2 separate regions of the Homo sapiens genome follow, and region 2 is linked to region 1. Evidence: promoter capture Hi-C in 16 types of primary human blood cells and fetal thymus (Javierre and others, 2016). All regions are on one chromosome and are shown on one strand. The core of a region is centred on a gene start or on the middle of the fragment in contact, and the rest is flanking DNA. Distances in the headings are between cores, read along the strand shown. Region 1 holds the start of ZNF835 (zinc finger protein 835). Region 2 holds the start of NLRP13 (NLR family pyrin domain containing 13).

Region 1 (3,149 bases), core at 141-2,640:
TATTGAATAATTTGCTACATTTGTAAAATGTAAGAGGTATATATAATATATGTATATTTCTAACGTAAAAACAATTTTTTTCTTTTCAAGATTTTTTCTTAAAAAGATGAGAGAAACATATTTTTTCAGGAAAAACAAACTTTAAAAAAAAAAGAGGAGAAATAAAACCTTTTCTCCCCTTTCCCCATCCTCTATCTATCCCTGTTTCCCAGGAACAAATCAAAAGGTGGATTATCTTCTGAAGAATGGAAACTGTTAGTCCAGAATGATGTCTTTTTCTCAATGCAGTGAGTTATAGATTCTCTAGTTTTCTCCCTAGGGATGGGAAGGGGGCATTGACGCAAGCCTGGAGAGGAGCCCGGGGAGCAGGGTCATGAAGTTTTTTCTTCAGTGAAGGAGGAATACAATCAAGGGTTTTGTATTCAGAATGTTGTGCAATATTTTGGAATAGGACATTGGTGTGTTTAGAGATTTTAGTTTAAAAACAAAACAAAAAGATTGATCAAATCTGTACAGTTTCTATTGTTCCAGATTTTTTAAAGTTTGTATTAAAAGCATGATACATAATAAAAATAAATAAATAAATAAAACTAAAAAGTAAAATGAAATTCTTCATCTATGTTAATGGATTTGCCACCTTCTTTGCCATAGACTGGAATGACATCAGCTACCTGAGACCAAAATAAAAGTGTGGGTTGCAAACCCTGGCACCTACCTTTTTAGATTCCGCAGCCTGCAGTAGGGACTTAGCCTGTCTGAACCTCAGCTTCCTTCTTTCTTCTTCTTTTTTTTTGAGACGAAGTCTCGCTCTGTCACCCAGGCTGGAGTGCAGTGGTGCGATCTCAGCTCACTGCAACCCTCGCCTCCCAGGTTCAAGCCATTCTCCCGCCTCAGCCTTCCAAGTAGCTGGAAGTGCATGCCACCATGCTCGGCTAATTTTTGTATTTTTAGTAGAGACGGGGGTTTCGCCATATTGGCCAGGCTGGTCTCGAACTCCTGACCTCAGGTGATCCACCCGCCTCGGCCTCCCTAAGCGCTGGGATGACAGGTGCCCGGACTCAAGTTCCTTCTTTCTAAGCCTGTGGGCTCGGCCTCATCCCCTGAGCAAGAAAAAAGTCCCACCCCTGAGTTACTGGAAGCGCCCACCGCCATGCACTGAGGCTGTAGTGGGCGGGGCTCGGGGCAGCAGCCCGGCGCTCCTCGGGCCCCCAGGGGTCAGCGCCCTGCGGACCTAGCGTGTGCAGACGCTTAGCCTTCTGGGAGTTGTAGTTTCGATGACCCAGGCTTTGCAAGCTTTAGTCGCGGTGCCGGCGAGCGCGCAGCGCCCCCTGGGAGTCGTAGTTCCTAAGAACCAGGCGGGCCCGATGCGCAGGCGCAGTCCACCCCGGCCTGGTGCGCGGGCTCCTCCGCAGCAGCAGAAGTCTTGACCTTAGCTCGTCTAAGGAAGGAGGCACCAGGGTCTGCGTTGGCCCAGGAGGACCCGAGACTGAGTAGAAGCGGAGCCGACTGCACCAGGCTAGGAGGGGGCCGGCCAGCGCGTTCGAAGGTGATACCGGGAGGCGAGAGCAACGGTGTGTAGTGTGCGCGTGTTCCTGCAGGTGTGTGACCGCGTGTGAGCCCGTCCCCGAGTGCCATTGTGTCTGCACCTGTTCACTTAGCGGTGTCAGCCCGTATAGGTGTGTGACTGCCTGTGAGCCCGTCCCTGAGTAACACAGCGTCTGCACCTGGTCACTCGACGGTACCAGCAGGTGCAGGTGTGTGACTGCCTGTGAGCCTGTCACTGCATCTGCACCTGCTTACTCGGCGGTGCCAGCCCGTCACTGTGTCTGTACCTGCTCACTTGGCGGTGCCAGGCCGTGCAGGTGTGTGACTGGCTGTGAGCCTGTCCCTGAGTGTCACAGCGTCTGCACCTGCTCACTCGACGGTACCAGCAGGTGCAGGTGTGTGACTGCCTGTGAGCCCGTCCCTGAGTGTCACAGCGTCTGCCCCTGCTCACTTGGCGGTGCCAGCCCATCACTGTGTCTGTACCTGCTCACTCGGCGGTGCCAGGCCTTGCAGGTGTGTGACTGCCTGTGAGCCCGTCCCCGAGTGTCACTGTGTCTGCACCTGCTCACTCAGTGGTGCCAGCCCAGGCAGGTGACTGCAGGTAAAGGCATGTAACACTTTATCGGTGTGTTATGTGCTCGTTCATGTGAAGCGGTGTCTGCATATCACAGCATGTCACATACACGTGTGGCTGCCTTTGGGCAAGTCTGAAAGTTCTCCTGGATGTGAGGTGTGTGACCCCACGTGTGCATGTCTGGGTGTGCCGCCGTGTAGGCTGGCTCGGCCCGTGTGCCTGCCAGCACAATGATGGGTGACCTGGCTGTGCGAGCCTGTAGAGTGCCGTGCTGTCTGAAGTGTGTGCATCTGCACATGATGGAGACGCTGCACATGTGGGCTTTGGCTATGCTGGAGCTCTATCCACCGAGTGTGACTGCACATGTGTCCAGCCATCCCCTGTGGGTGTGTCCCAGTAATGGCCGGCCTGTGTGGAGCAGGTGGCATGTGTGACCTTGTGCGTCTCTGTGCACCTCTTCACACAGGGAGCTACGTGTGGGGCTGGGTGTGTGTGTAGCTACGTGTGCCCGGGACCCTGTGTGCATGTGTGAGTGTGGCTGCAGGTGATGGCTTCCCACCTGCCTCCTTGCATGGGGGTTAGGAGGGCGACTGTGTGTCCCTGGATATGGGTTTGGGTGTCTCTGCATGTCTGTGTGTGTCTGGGCAGGTATGATTGTGTATGACCCTGTGTGTGTCAGAGTGTGATGTAATGCATGTGTCTTCCTGTGATCTTGTGATATAATAAGAAATATATGTTTAATCTTTATCCCCAGCTCCTGGTACCAGAGCCCCTAAAACCCTTGGAATTTCCTGAGTGACAGGGGTAGAAGGAGTGTCTTCTGCAACTCTTAATAAGCCCCCTGCAACCACACCTGTGTTTATGCTAATGGAGGACTCCTGATAGGCCCCCAAGTACATTTATGCTAATGGAGGACTCCTGATAGGCCCCCAAGTACATTTATGCTAATGGAGGACTCCTGATAGGCCCCCAAGTACATTTATGCTAATGGAGGACTCCTGGTAGGCCCCCAAGTACATTTATGCTAATG
Region 2 (2,791 bases), core at 270-2,769, 740 kb after region 1:
CGGGGTTTCACCATGTTGGCCAGGCTGGTCTCAAGCTCCTGACCTCATGTGATCTGCCCACCTTGGCCTCCTAAAACTAGGATTACAGGTGTGAGCCACCGCGCCCAGCCCCCTTGCTCAGCTTCTACTGGGTGTTCAATGATAGCTTAATGTCATTTGATTCTCAAATAAGCTTTTCCCCTAGTCTTTATCCTCCCTGCTTATACCTGAAAGGGCTTTTCTTCATGATGTTTCAAGTTTTCCTCTGTGTGTCTTTCCCCATCTTTTCTCCAACAATTTCTGGAGTAGTCCAATGAATTTGGGCTGCCAGGGTAGGTCCTAACATACATCTCTTCTGGAGATTTCTCTTTGGGAGACATTCGGGGGTCACACACCAGTAGCTTCAAGCATAGTGTTTTGGGCCAGGCATGGTGGCTCATGCCTGTAATCCCAGCATTTTGGGAGGCCAAGGCCAGTATGCACCTGTAGTCCCAGCTACTCGGACGCTGAGGCAAGAGAATCACTTGAACCTGGGAGGCAAAGACTCCAGTGAGCCGAGATCCAGCCATTGCACTCCAGCCTGGGCAACGAGAGCGAAACTCCATCACAAAAAAAAAAGTCTTTTGTTCTGCTGTCTATCTGTTGCCTTCAATACTACCTGGTATTTTGACATGACCCAGCATACATGCCGGACCAGGTTCTATGGGGGAATAGTGGCAGATCTGTCTCAATCACCATTAGCTGCCTGGTGGCCAAAATCGTGATGGGCGGAAACTTCTATTTTCTCTCTTTGTTACCCCTTCTCCCTGATTAGTTTCCCCCGTTCCCATCTCTCAAATGTCTTTGATCTTTACTGTGACTAATTAACTTCAATGTTCTTCTTATTCACATTTCAGGTGAACCCTCTGAATGTGAGTTGGTAAGTACCATCATGCACCTGTAACTTTTCTAGGACAGCTGTCACTGTTAGTAAGGCAGATAAATCAGGTGCTGATGGCATTGTTCCTTCTGGGATGGGATGAAAGCCAGTGATCTCGAGTCTAGGTAAGGTTGCTAGAGAAAATACCCAGTTGAGGCCGGGCCCGGTGGCTCACGCCTGTAATCCCAACACTTTGGGAGGCCGAGGCGGGCGGATCACAAGGTCAGGAGATCGAGACCATCCTGGCTAACACGGTGAAACCCCATCTGTACTAAAAATACAAAAAAAACTAGCTGGGCGTGGTGGCGGGCACCTGTAGTCCCAGCTACTCAAGAGGCTGAGGCAGGAGAATGGCGTGAACCCGGGAGGCGGAGCTTGCAGTGAGCCGAGATCGCACCATTGCACTTCAGCTTGGGGGACAGAGCGAGACTCCATCTCAAAAAACAAAACAACAACAAAAAAGTGTACTAACACAAGTAGCAGGAAGTACTGTGAAGCGAAAATACTCAAATGTGTAGGCAAGACAGTGAGAGGAGGTGATATTTATGGCTTATGATTTCAACTCTCTCCTTTTCTGCAGGTCACAAGTGTCCTGTGGATATAGGAGTCCTTTGCTGAAGTGAGAAACTGCATGTGTTGGGCAAGATGAACTTTTCTGTAATCACCTGCCCCAACGGTGGTACCAACCAAGGGCTTCTGCCTTACCTGATGGCCCTGGATCAGTATCAGCTGGAGGAATTCAAGCTTTGCTTGGAACCCCAGCAGCTGATGGACTTCTGGTCGGCCCCCCAGGGGCACTTCCCGCGTATCCCCTGGGCAAACTTGAGAGCTGCCGACCCTTTGAATCTGTCCTTTCTTTTGGATGAACACTTCCCAAAAGGTCAGGCATGGAAAGTGGTCCTCGGCATCTTCCAGACAATGAATCTGACCTCACTGTGTGAGAAAGTTAGAGCCGAGATGAAAGGTGAGAGTCCTCAAGAAGGAAGGCGGGAGGGCTGCTTGGTACTCCTGAGGCAAGGAGGTAGCCGCTGGGTTTTTGTGGGGTCATTCCACACTGCCGATCTCCCCCTACAAATCCTCCTTGATAATCTATGACAGTATGATGTTTAAAGGCATAAAGGCTATAAAGATTTAGTGCTCTAGCCTGGGAAGGAGTAGCAAAGGCAAGAAAGGGAATCGGAAGAGGCACATTCAGTTATGTTATAAGCCTTTTTCTTTCTTTCTTTCTTTCTTTTTTTTTTTTTTTTGAGCCTGAGTCTCCACTCTGTCGCCCAGGCTGGAGTGCAGTGGTGCGATCTGAGGTCACTGTAACCTCTGCCTCCCAGGTTGAAGCGATTCTCCTGCCTCAGCCTCCCAAGTAGCTGGGACTACAGGCGCCCGCCACCACACCCGGCTAATTTTTTTGTATTTTTAGTAGAGACGGGGTTTCACTGTGTTAGCCAGGATGGTCTCAATCTCCTGACCTCGTGATCTGCTCGCCTCGACCTCCCAAAGCACTGGGATTACAGGCGTGAGCCACCGCGCCCAGCCCAGGCTTCTTTTAAACATGCAAATTTGTCCCAGTGTGATTGTCGTACTGGGAACAATTTGAGTGCAGCACAGATTTCATGTTAGCTTATGCATGGTTTTGCCCAAGAGAAACACTAAGAAACCACAACAACCCCCGCCCTGCCCCCGCAACCCACCGACCCTGCACTCAGCCGAGCAGAGCCATGTAGGATTGTACACAATGCACACAGGCATGTACCTCAAACATCTACCCGCTTCCTCAGTACGAGCCTTGCCCATTCTACACTTTCTGTCTGATTTCAGATCATTGTTCTTTCACTTCACAAAAACTCACAAGCTGCGACACTTCCCATATTCACAAGCAAAGTTCATGTTTTACTCAGG

The links. The method cuts DNA at HindIII sites, captures the fragments that hold promoters and counts their contacts. A CHiCAGO score of 5 or more calls a contact.
Region 2: the fragment with the promoter of NLRP13 here is called in contact with the fragment with the promoter of ZNF835 in region 1 in 3 of 17 cell types (endothelial precursors, activated CD4 T cells and M0 macrophages); the score reaches 5.8 in endothelial precursors.

What each region holds. Positions count from the first base shown.
Region 1 is chr19:56,669,998-56,673,146 of GRCh38, reverse strand. ZNF835 (zinc finger protein 835) reads left to right here and starts at 1,390. Exons shown (of 2, transcript NM_001005850.3): 1 at 1,390-1,571. LOC105372473 (a long non-coding RNA gene) reads right to left here and starts at 1,168. Exons shown (of 4, transcript XR_936110.4): 1 at 716-1,168. The HindIII fragment of the contact is 4,177 bases long and covers 1,296-3,149 here.
Region 2 is chr19:55,931,064-55,933,854 of GRCh38, reverse strand. NLRP13 (NLR family pyrin domain containing 13) reads left to right here and starts at 1,519. Exons shown (of 11, transcript NM_176810.2): 1 at 1,519-1,862. The coding sequence starts at 1,544. The HindIII fragment of the contact is 1,470 bases long and covers 175-1,644 here.